Regions from separate parts of the Homo sapiens genome. Here region 2 is linked to region 1. Evidence: promoter capture Hi-C in 16 types of primary human blood cells and fetal thymus (Javierre and others, 2016). All regions are on one chromosome and are shown on one strand. Each heading gives the region's core, a stretch centred on a gene start or on the middle of the fragment in contact. The rest is flanking DNA. Distances are from core to core; before and after follow the strand shown.

Region 1 (5,673 bases), core at 1,472-3,971:
GCCGAGGCAGGCAGATCACTTGAGATTAGGAGTTCGAGACCCGCCTGGCCAACATGGTGAAACCCTGTCTCTACTAAAAATACAAAAATTAGCCAGGCGTGGTGGCATATGCCTGTAGTCCCAGCTACTCAGGAGGCTGAGGCAAGAGAATCACTTGAAGCCAGGAGGCAGAGGTTGCACTGAACCAAGGTCACGCCACTATACACCAGCCTAAGCGACAGTGGAGACTCCATCTCAAGGAAGGAAAAAAAAAAAAAAGCTCTAAACATTTCAAAAATGAGAAACAGAAGGGACCTTATTTTCAGAATTTAGGTTACACAGAGAAACTATGAGAGACTAAGATGCCAGAGTTATCCACAATCACAACCTGTATAGGTTCCTTCGAGCAGGTGTCACTTGTGACCTTGCTCCTGAGTGAAGTCACATCTTTGCATATAATTTTTCCCCATAACACTTTTCTCATAAGTCTGAAGTAACCAACCTTGAGTGATATGGAAAAAAATACAGGAAATTATTCTGATGGTATTTATAGGTCAGAGCTCTAAAAAATTTAGAGGACTAATATTTTACTTAGATTAACTAGGAGAAGTTAAATATAGTAAGTGTCCTATAATAATAATCTTCCCTTGATATCACAGGAGATTGGTTCCAGGATCACTGTGGATACCAAAATCTGCAGATGCTCAAGTCCCTTATACTTCAAATATAAAGCCAGGCATGGTGGCTCACGCCTGTAATCCCAGCACTTTGGGAGGCTGAGGCAGGCTGACCACCTGAGGTCAGGAGTTCGAGACCAGGCTGGCCAAGATGGTGAAACCCTGTCTCTACTAAAAATAAAAAAATTAGCTGGGCATGGTGGCACACACCTGTACCTCAGCTACTTGGGAGGCTGAGGCAGGAGAATCGCTTGAACCCAGGAGGCAGAGGTGGCAGTGAGCCGAGATTGCACCACTGCACTCCAGTCTGGGTGACAGAGTGAGACTCCATCTCAAAAAAATAAAAATAAAGTGAATGGAAGTATATTTACATATAACCTATGCACATCCTCCCATATACTTTAAAATTATCTCCAGATTACTTATCATACGTAATACAACGTAAATGTCTGGTAAATAGTTGTTATACTGTATTGTTTAGGGAATCATGACAAGAAAAAAAAATCTGTACACGTACAGATACAACCATCGCAAGCTTAACAACAGTTATGATTCATGTTTGTTGAATCCGTGGAAGCAGAGCCTACAGACACAGAGGGCTGACTGTTCATTCACTGATTCAGCAAACATATACATTTATGATTATGTGTGCTGAGAAACCTTGGTTTACAATTTGTAATGGGATATAACAAATCAAAGGATCAAACTTACTTAGAAGCCTTCTCTAAGATGTAAGTGCCTTAGAACCTGGCTAGACAGTGCTATAAATTGCTGAAACAGGTACAGAGGGGAAATAGATGGAGGCAGACTGCAGGAAGAAGGAGCCCTTTAGACATAAAGAGCTTGAAGTTCCCTGTAACTTCCAGGTGGACTGCACATTGGGCAATTAGATAATATGGATTAGGAGCTCAGGACAAGCCTCCAGCAGAAACAGACATTTATTAGTCATCTGTATTAGATGAAGCCATGGATGGCAGTGTAATGTTGTTGCTGATAGGAGTACTTAGATGATCAAGGCCAGAAACTTAGAAACACCAATAGTTAGGGGAAAAGCAGAAACTAAGTCCTGTCTTCTTTGTATCTTTTACTTTTTCTGTATATTTCAAAACTATTAACCCTGTTACTTTTTTATTTTATTGAAAAATATGTTAAGAATAAGTGTGACAAGATACTTGAATATGTTGATATGTTAAGAATAAGTGTGACAAGATACTTGAAGATAGGATACTTCTATCTTTGTATACACAAGAAAAGAATTTCCCCTATATTTACAAAAGGCTGGGGAAACCCTGATTAAATTAGGAGTGAGATTGCTGCCCTCACTGACGAACTAGGGAGTTTCTTGACCTCTGCGCTAAAGGCAGGACAAGTAGCTTCCAAATTCTGTGCCGTCTGCGCTATTGGAAACTACCTCTTAAAGATATTCCTTAGTTCAGGGTTTCTCCAAGCAACTGCACCAAAGTTTCTCCAAAGTATTAAGAAAAGTCAATGCCTACTGGGTGTACAGGCACCCAGTAACAAGTTTTTCCGAAATCTTGCCTCTTTAAAAAAATAATGGAAAGGTAATGCTGATTTTGTTTTCTACTCCACAATAGGTCTGCTTTTATATAAAAAATCACCTTTAAAATTACTTATCCGCTCAATTCCTTAGCCTTTTCCGTTTCCTATTTTCCAGAAAACGCATCTTTATTATTTTAGAAATGAGAAAAGTGAGGCTTAGAGGTTACTACCTCACAAAGCCATCCGTCCATCCTCACAAACTTGGAACCAGTTTCTCACTAACTCTGCACCCTCAACACCCCCTCACACTCTCGGTCACCCACCCGCGAACCCACCCGAACTGTACCCCTGCCCCCAGCCACACAAGCTCGGATCACCGCACATCATAGAAGGCGATTCCTCCCCTCCATACTCCCAGCCCCGTCGCAGGCACTGCAAATCCTCCCCTCCAGCGTCCCTGGCCCGTTTCAGTGTCCAGAAACCCAAGTCCCACAGGGCCGAAACCCAACTCACCGGCAGACAAAGACGACCATGGCAAGTCGGAGATTCCGCGCCTGCGCACTCCTTCCGCGGGCAGCGCTCCCAGAGGTCTCCTGGGCTGGGCCAGGCCCCGACTCAGAACCGGACGGAATCGAGAGATCTTGGCCCGTCCTCCGTGCCACTCTTTTGAGGGTAGACTACATTTCCCAGAAGGTTCAGCGGTTTGAGTCAGCTTTTCGCGCGAACTTTTCCTCCGCCAGAGCTTGTGGGACTGTCTCCCTGGCCGGGGCAGGGGTGTAAGGCCTTAGTCTTAGTTTACTCTATCCCTGGGATTGGGTAGTGGTGTAACATCAGCTTAAACACGCTGTGCTGACTTTATGTAACAGCCACGGTGCGATACTAAGCCAGGAACCCCAGGAGACTCTCAGACACGGTTCGGGAATGAGGGTAATCCCTTTGGCTGGGCTCAAGCCGGGCGCCATCTTGCTCATCGCGGGCGTGGCGCTGAACTACATTTCCCAGAAGGCGCCGCGCCCTCGGCCCCTCCCCTCGCGACTCCCGCGGCTCGGGGGAGAGCTGCACGCGACCCAGGTGCTGGCCTCTGAGCGGGTCGGCTCGGAGACTACAGGATCAGGAGGAGGTTGGAGGTGAAGCGTCTGGAATCCGGTGCGGAGGTTGAGACTGAGTATTAAGTCTGTTCAGGCGGAACGCGCCGAGAAGGGCGGTTGTGAAATTGTGTTTTTGTGAATGTATGTCCTAGCACAGTGTGTGTGTGATTGTGATTGTGTGTGACACCTTGTGTACGGATGTGGGGAGGACTCTGCGGGTGTCCCGTGAGTCCCTGTGTTAGGACTGTTATTGTGTGACTGTGTAACGCTGTGTGAGGGTGTGGGTTAGCTGTGACTGTGTGCCCGCGGTGGGTGTGTGATTGTAACTCTGTGACCATATGTTCGTTTGTGTGCAGATATAGGGAGCTTTGTACTTATGTAGTTGTGACTCTGTGTCCTTGTGTGGGAGTATGGAGGGTGGGTGCTTGTGACTTTGTGTACAGTGGTGGGTGTGTGACTGTGAAGCATTGGGTGTGCGTGGAGTTGAGACTGTGTTTGTGTGTCTTTGACCAAATGTCACACATAGTCATATGTGAGAGCAGAAGACAGCTCGGCCCCGTGATAGTAAAGGGGATTTTTCTATGACACTGAGTTTTGAGTTGGAAGCCCCAGTTTCCTCTGATAGCCCTCCCATGGCGGGGGAGGGGAACGCAGAGTAAGCTCTGGCCTTGTCATTTGGGCCCTAGGGGAGGTGTATTGTCTCCCTTCTCATTTCTGTCCTCCAAGAGAGGTTCCCCAGAGGAGAGGAAATAACGGTTGTGATATCTAAAAGCCATGTTTAAGGTGCCTTGAAGTTTTCTCTTTGTTCCTGAAATGCTTTATTTTTCCAGGACCTGATTTTTTTTTTTTTTGAGATGGAGTCTCGCACTGTCGCCCGGGCTGGTGTGCAGTGGCGCGATCTCGGCTCACTGCAACCTCCGCCTCCCAGGTTCAAGCGATTCTCCTTCCTCAGCCTACCGAGTAGCTAGGATTACAGGTGCCGGCCACCACGCCCGGGTAATTTTTTTGTTGTTGTATTTTTAGTAGAGACGGGGCTTCACTATGTTGGCCTGGCTTGTCTTGAACTCCTAACCTTGTGAACCGTCCACCTCGGCCTCCCAAAGTGCTGGGATTACAGGCATGAGCCACTGCGCCCGGCTGATTTTTTTTTTCTTAGCAAATGCCTAAAAGGACTTATCAAGTAACCTGGAATCTTCTGTTACTCTTTGGAAAAATCTTCCTAATTTTGTCTTATTAATATAGCAAATGGTTCAGTTTATCATGTATGCTTAGTTTGGTTTTACCTATATACATATGTAGATATATATGCATATACATAAATATACATACACATATTTGTATATGCACATATTGAAATGTATCTCATGTTTTAAGTGATATTTTAACTTCCTACATAATTGAAAGCTATTTGAGAATATATTAAATTGTAGATACTGTTAATTGTTTTGCCACATATGTGGCTAACCCAATATCCATTCCCTTCTTTATTGCTATAAAAGTCCTGATCTTGTTTGCTCTGCTTAAAGAAAAACAAACAGAAAACAAACAAAAAACCCAAACTCTACGTGTTCTAGCTTCTCCTGTTGATGTAAGTTAAAGTTCTTAGATTGGGCTTCTCAGACAGTTTTTTTTTTTTTGAAATGGAGTCTTCACTCAGTCACCCAAGTTGGAGTGCAGTAGCGTGATCTCAGCTCACTGCAACCTTCACCTCCCGGGTTCAAGCGGTTCTCCTGCCTCAGGCTCCTGAGTAGCTGGGATTACAGGCGACTGCCACCATGCCCGGCTAATTTTTGTGTTTTTAGTAGAGATGAGGTTTCCACCATGTTGGCCAGGCTGGTCTCGAACTCCTGACCTCAGGTGATCTGCCTGCCTAGGCCTCCCAAAGTGCTGGGATTACAGGCATGAGCTACTGCACCTGGCCACTCAGGCAGTTCTTTAAAGGTATGGGGATGGGGTGGGGCAGGCTCAGTGTGCATACATTCTTTTTCCCCTTTCTGTCTGGAATGTGGATATTGTGCTACATGCAGAGCAGCTATCTCATAACCATGCATTTTTTTTTTTTTTTTTTTGAGACAGAAACTTGCTCTGTTGCCCAGTCTGGAGTGCGGTGGCGCAATCTCAGCTCACTGCAACCTCTGCCTATTGAGTTCAAGTGATGCTCCTGCCTCAGCCTCCTGAGTAGCTGGGACTACAGGCGTGCACCACCATGCCTGGCTAATTTTTGTATTTTTAGAAGAGATGGGGTTTCACCATGTTGGCCAGGCTGGTCTCAAACTCCTGACCTCAGGTGATCCGTCTGCCTCGGCCTCCCAAAGTGCTGGGATTACAGGTGTGAGCCACCATGCCCGGCCATAACCATGCATTTATAATGGAAGGAAGGAGATGAGAGTTTACAATGTCATATTAAATGAAAATAGAGGATTTTAAGT
Region 2 (5,673 bases), core at 1,782-4,281, 980 kb after region 1:
TGAATCCTTGTTGCTTTATTTACTCACTGAATGATTACGGACAGGTCACCTCACCCCCGTGTTGCAGTTTCTTTTGAAGCGTGATGATAACACTATCTTTACAATGTTTGTGGCAGTCTTTAATGTTATTCCAAAATATCGCCAGCTCTTCCCATCCCAGAATTATGGTAGGATTACATGTCTGCTATCACACTCCTGGGTGGCCATGTGACGTCTCAAAGACTAGTGAATGGAAATGACATGTATAGTTTTTGAGGCAGAACGTTTAATTCCCAGCAAAAGACCCTCAAAGGCTGTCTTTCCCTCGGCCTTCATGAGTGACAATTTACCAGTTGTGGCTGCTTTATTGGTCTAATCCTAGAATAAGAACAGCCCTTGAAGTGAGCAGGCCAGTGATCAATCAGGCATTTAATAGGCACTTTATAAATACTCATTTTACTTCAATATTATTATTTTTGTTTTTTTAGAGACAGAGTCTCACCCAGGCTGGAGTGCAATGGCACAATCTTGGCCCACTGAAACCTCCACCTCCTGGGTTCAGTGATTCTCCTACCTCAGCCTCCCGAGCAGCTGGAATTATAGGCGTCCACCATGCCGGCTAATTTTTGTATTTTTAGTAGAGACGGGGTTCCAACATGTTGGCCGGGTTGGTCTTGAACTCCTGACCTCAGGTGATCTGCCCACCTTGGCTTCTCAAAGTGCTGGAATTACATGTGTGAGCTACCATGCCCAGCCTAAATGGTGATTTTAAATTAATTACTATAATCACTTCAAAGTGTTGTCATATAAACCACTTATATTAAATCAAATGAAGCAAGGACCCTTGACCTCTTTGTTAAATTTTAAAAATCTAGCAGAGCCATAGGCCTTTAATTTTTCCATCGCAAGGAAGAAGAGGAAACTGGTAATAATCTCCTCTGACAGAATAATCTCGCAACTTTAGGAACTTTATTTAAAGAATTCAGAAATGGGGTTGGGCGCGGTGGCTCACACCTGTAGTCCCAGCACTTTGGGAGGTCGAGGCAGGCGGATCACCTGAGGTCGGGAGTTCGAGACCAGCCTGACCAACATGGAGAAACCCCGTCTCTACTAAAAATACAAAATTAGCCTGGCGTGGTGGTGCATGCCTGTAATCCCAGCTACTCAGGAGGCTGAGGCAGGAGAATCGCTTGAACCCGGGAGGCAGAGGTTGCGGTGAGCTGAAATTGCACCAATGCACTCCAGCCTAGGCAACAAGAGCGAAACTCCGTCTCAAAAAAAAAAAAAAAGAAGAAATGTCAATTGTAGCATTTTAACACAGCATTGAAGTTATCTACTGATGCATAGCAAATTACCCTAAACTCAGAAGCTTAAAACAACAAACATGTAGTATCTTACACACTTTCTGAGGGTGAGGAATATAGGAGCTGCTATAGCTGAGTGCTTGTGACTGTGTCTCTCACGCAGTTGCAGTCAAACTATTGGCAGGGGCTGCTGTCATCTCAAGGTTTGACTGGGGCTGGGAGATGTGCTTCCAAGGGTGATACACTTGGTTATAGGAAGGCCCCAGCTACTCCCAGGCTATTGGGTGGAGGGCTTAGTTCCTTGCTACCTGGGCCTCTCCATAGGCTGTCTCGGTATCCTCATGACATGGCAACTAACTTCTCTCAAAGTGGGGGCAGCAGCCTTTAAGACAGAACTCAAGGTGCCATTTATTATATTTAATCTCAGCAGTGACATCTATCACTGCTACTGCATTCTATTAGTCTCACAGTCCAACCCTGGTACAATGTGGGAGGGAACTACATAAGAGTGTGAATAGTAGGAGGTAGGAATCATTGGGAAACATTTTGAGGTCAGTTATTGTATCAGTTGCTAGGATGACCAGTTGGAATTAGGATTTTTTTAAAAAGCCATTTTCATAAGACAAGGCAATCTTTTCTAGAGATGTTCCAATACCTGTGATATGCGGAGCACTGCGCTAGGTGGTATTCAAGGCAGGCCTGTAGTGAATGCTGTTGGACCCAGCCACCACCCCTGAGCAATCATATGCAGACCGCTGGCTTCTTAACTGCAGACACCTACAGACTCAGCCTAAGACTTTCCCACGAGGCAGGCTCGAAGTGCTGGAGCTTTAACACCTCTGGAGTGGCCCTAAAACAATTAGGAAGAGAGATGGTGTAGACATATGTAAGCTTCATCGGCCTGGTGGTTGTGAAAACTTGGAAGTGGTTTCTACACAATCCCCCAGAGGTCCCAAGCTGACTGAGCCCTCATTGATCCAGAGCTAATCTGCTCACCTATGCACTGTATATTCGTTCCCATCGCTCCCGTCTCACTTCTCCATCCCCCACCTACCAAATAAACTGCTTGCACTCATTCTTTCCTCAGGTCGGCTTCTCGGGCAAGCCTCCTTAGGTAAAAACCTTGCTTTCAACATTTCCTTTCCATTATGCGCTAAGAACTCTGATCTCTTCCCGCTGCGGCAGCCCCGCCCTTTCCTTGCGGCTCCGCCCTTTCCGTGAAGTCACGCCCGTCCTTAGGCTGTCTCTGTCTCCCTAAGAGCGAGTCTCTTCGCTGCTCTCTAACTCCTAGAGCTGGCTCAGAAAGAGTTTCACATTGCCATAGGGGAGCTCCTAGGAGAGGCTGCACCCATTGCACGTAAGAAGCGGTAAAAATGTACGCGGCCATCTTACCAGGCTGCCGGAGACAAAGAAAGCTCAGCTTTGATGTCTGGGCGCCACCATGTTGGCCACAGGAGGTTTTGGCATCTGAGATGCTGAGTTAAGAGCAGAGACGACATCTCTGTTTAGGGATCCAGGGACACTTCCTTCTCCTTGTCCTAAAATAGCCTTATCTTTTGGTCTAGCAAAGGGCTTAATCATCCGTTTTACGGCACAGTTTTAAACATGGCCGCCCCAGGTAGGAGTCAAGTGGGCGTCGCCATCATACCTCCAATTACAGCTTTGAGAAACCCAGAATCCTGTTCACTGGAAGGTTGCCGGGTGGCGGCTGACAGCCTCAAAGTCGCAATTGAGTCTGCGCACCGGCCATTCAGGATGGGACGACCTTATACCGCGGTGAGGCGGCGTGGCAGGACGACCAATTTCAGATTCAGGGCGCGGATGCAGCATAAATGGGAAGGCACGGTTTGAGAAACGGTCAAACCTGGGACTAGTGGAGGATAGTGAGCTGCCGACTACGGTGGCCGACTGGGTCAGCTATGGGTGCCCGTGAGGGTCAATGACAAGGGAACTGAAGGGTTAAGAGATTCGGCGTCTGAGCCTCGCGGGGCCTCAGTGGTGGCGGACAGAGGTTTGCGGGAGTCAGTGGCACGGTCTCTGAAGAAGATGGATTGGGAGTGTGTGGGAATCAATAAATGCGAGTTCTGTGAAATGTCTTGATTTTCAGGGTGCATGGGGTCAGTAATAGTGGTCTTCATGGGTCTGGGGTCAGTTGGGATTTTTCAGACACTGGTTTAGAGATCTTTAAGGTTAATGATCGGAGCCCGAGAGGATCAGTGATCGGAGGTTCTAAGTTCTGTGGGCAGTAATAGTTTGGGTACTGGAATTGGTGATTGTGGAAACTTTGGGGTTCAAATGAGGGAGGTCAGTGGTGATGAATGTTTGGAGAAATGTTTTGGGCCATCGGTGATTGAGACTTACTTCATATCATCGGTGGAGGATCGGAGAGTATTAACGATTGGACTTTTGTAGATCAGGGAATGGAGAATAGAGTCAAGTGTGCTTATCTTAAAGGTACGCCTCAATGAGGCTCAGTGATTCGGACTGTCACTTGTGGGTGGGAGTGGGACTGTGAGAATCAACAATTGATCCTCAGTCGTTGGGATATCATTGGCAATCAGTGTGGATTCATGATTGGGGGCTGTGTAATTTCACTGGCAATCAGATCGGATCGGTGTTCTTTGTAGTTACTGACCTGTAGTCTCTCCTGGTCAGATTTGAACATAGGGGAATATCAGTGACTATGAAAACCTCTGAGGGTTGGAGATTGGAGGCCAGTGATTGGGGGCACTATGCGTGTCTGATTAGGAGACTTATAGGGGTTGGTGTTGAGGGTCCTGAAATGTGGAGATTGGGGATGGGAAAATCACAGATTTGAGGCTGCAAGCCTGCATAGCGGGAACACATTTCACTCAGGTGACACTCCCTAGCTGAATAGCAGCCAGTTCCTCTCCACCAAGGCCCATCTGAAAACTCTTTTTTGAACCCACACCCTTTTTATTGTTCTCTACAATAATGAAAATAATTTGAAAGGATCGCGTGCTAAACTTATCTAAAGTAACATGTTACTAAAGACGTGGCTTCTATTCTTGTTAGGGATCTAATGCATATTTTTTCCTAATGTTTCCTTTAAGGCTCTTTCTGGCAAAGGTAATGACATACGCATCTGTGCCAGCATCCCAAGAGTGAGGCTGGTTTCTGGAAATCCATTCTGACTCTGTGACAGCGGGGATGGATGTGACCTTGCCCGTGGTTAGAAAACAAATTTACTGAGTAAGTATCTAAAATGATAATGTAGGCTGTGTGCAGTGGTTCATGCCTGTAATCCCAGCACTTTGGGAGGCTGAGGTGGGTGGATCATTTGAAGTCAGGAATTACTAGCCTGGTCAACATGGTGAAACCCTGCCTCTACTAAAAACACAAAAATTAGCCGGGCGTGGTGGCGGGCGCCTGAGGTCCCAGCTACTCTGGAGGCTGAGGCAGGAGAATCGTTTGAACCCAAGAGGTGGAGATTGCAGTGAAACGAGATTGTACCACTGCACTCCAGCCCGGGTGACAGAATGAGACTCTGTCTCAAGATAAATAAATAAATATAAATAAACAAAATAAAATAAAATGATAATGTAAAAGATTTGGCTGAAAGAGCAAACAGAGTGTTTAGAAAATACTTTTATCTAGGCTCAACTTAAATTATCAAAGGAAGAGAAACTAGATTTGGAATTTATTGTATTCTGAGAAACTTTTTGCCTTGTCCTATATATTTTAGGCATAGCCATTTTTAACCTCCACTAATCAATTCCTTATAAAGTCCTGGCAGAAAAAATTCAAGACAGATAAAGCCACAACCGCCACAAAACAAAATGTAAGCTACTTTTAGAAACTGTTCCTCACTGAAATTAAAATTGAACTAATAGTTATTAAAATGGCTGAGATGGGATTGCAAATAAAATGGAAATAAGATTTGAAAAAATAGATTTAGGGGATATAAGTGCAGTTTTGTTACATGGGTATATTTCACAGTGGGGAAGCCTGGGCTTTTAGTGTAACTATCACTTGAATAATGTACATTGTACCAATCTGATAATTTCTCATCCCTTACCCGCTTCCTACCCTCCCTCCATTCAGAGTCATCTGTGTCTATTATTCTGCTTTCTATATCCATGTGTACACATTATTATCTTATAAGTGAGAACATGCAGTATTTGACTTTCTATTTCTGAGTTAGAAAATAAGATTTTGACCATTAATGAAAAAGTGCAATGTCAAAACAATATTTTAATTTTAAAAAATTATTACGTTTGATCTTTATGTAACCTTCAGACAAAGCACAATGCCTGTAGCATCTTAAGAAATAAAGGCAGCTGGATGCTAAGGCAGGTAACATCTTTCAGAACCCACATAGGTCAAATTTTAGTTTTAAAAGCAGATAGTCCCTGTTTTTCACTTGCAC

Evidence for each region. Contacts are between HindIII fragments. The CHiCAGO score rates a contact against its expected background, and 5 or more counts as called.
Region 2: a contact is called between the fragment with the promoter of ZNF793 here and the fragment with the promoter of ZNF260 in region 1, in 3 of 17 cell types (total CD8 T cells, non-activated CD4 T cells and naive CD8 T cells). The highest score is 6.5, in total CD8 T cells.

Annotation. Positions count from the first base shown.
Region 1 is chr19:36,525,550-36,531,222 of GRCh38, forward strand. ZNF260 (zinc finger protein 260) reads right to left here and starts at 2,722. Exons shown (of 3, transcript NM_001166037.2): 1 at 2,670-2,722. RefSeq lists enhancers at 2,019-2,729, 2,470-3,099, 2,730-3,438, 3,250-3,449. The HindIII fragment of the contact is 4,591 bases long and covers 1,190-5,673 here.
Region 2 is chr19:37,503,908-37,509,580 of GRCh38, forward strand. ZNF793 (zinc finger protein 793) reads left to right here and starts at 3,032. Exons shown (of 8, transcript NM_001013659.3): 1 at 3,032-3,059; 2 at 4,358-4,496. It overlaps ZNF793-AS1 (ZNF793 antisense RNA 1), which reads right to left and starts at 3,180. Exons shown (of 3, transcript NR_110723.1): 1 at 2,932-3,180; 2 at 1,939-2,133. RefSeq lists enhancers at 1,950-2,741, 2,742-3,533, 3,099-3,248. The HindIII fragment of the contact is 7,284 bases long and covers 2,173-5,673 here.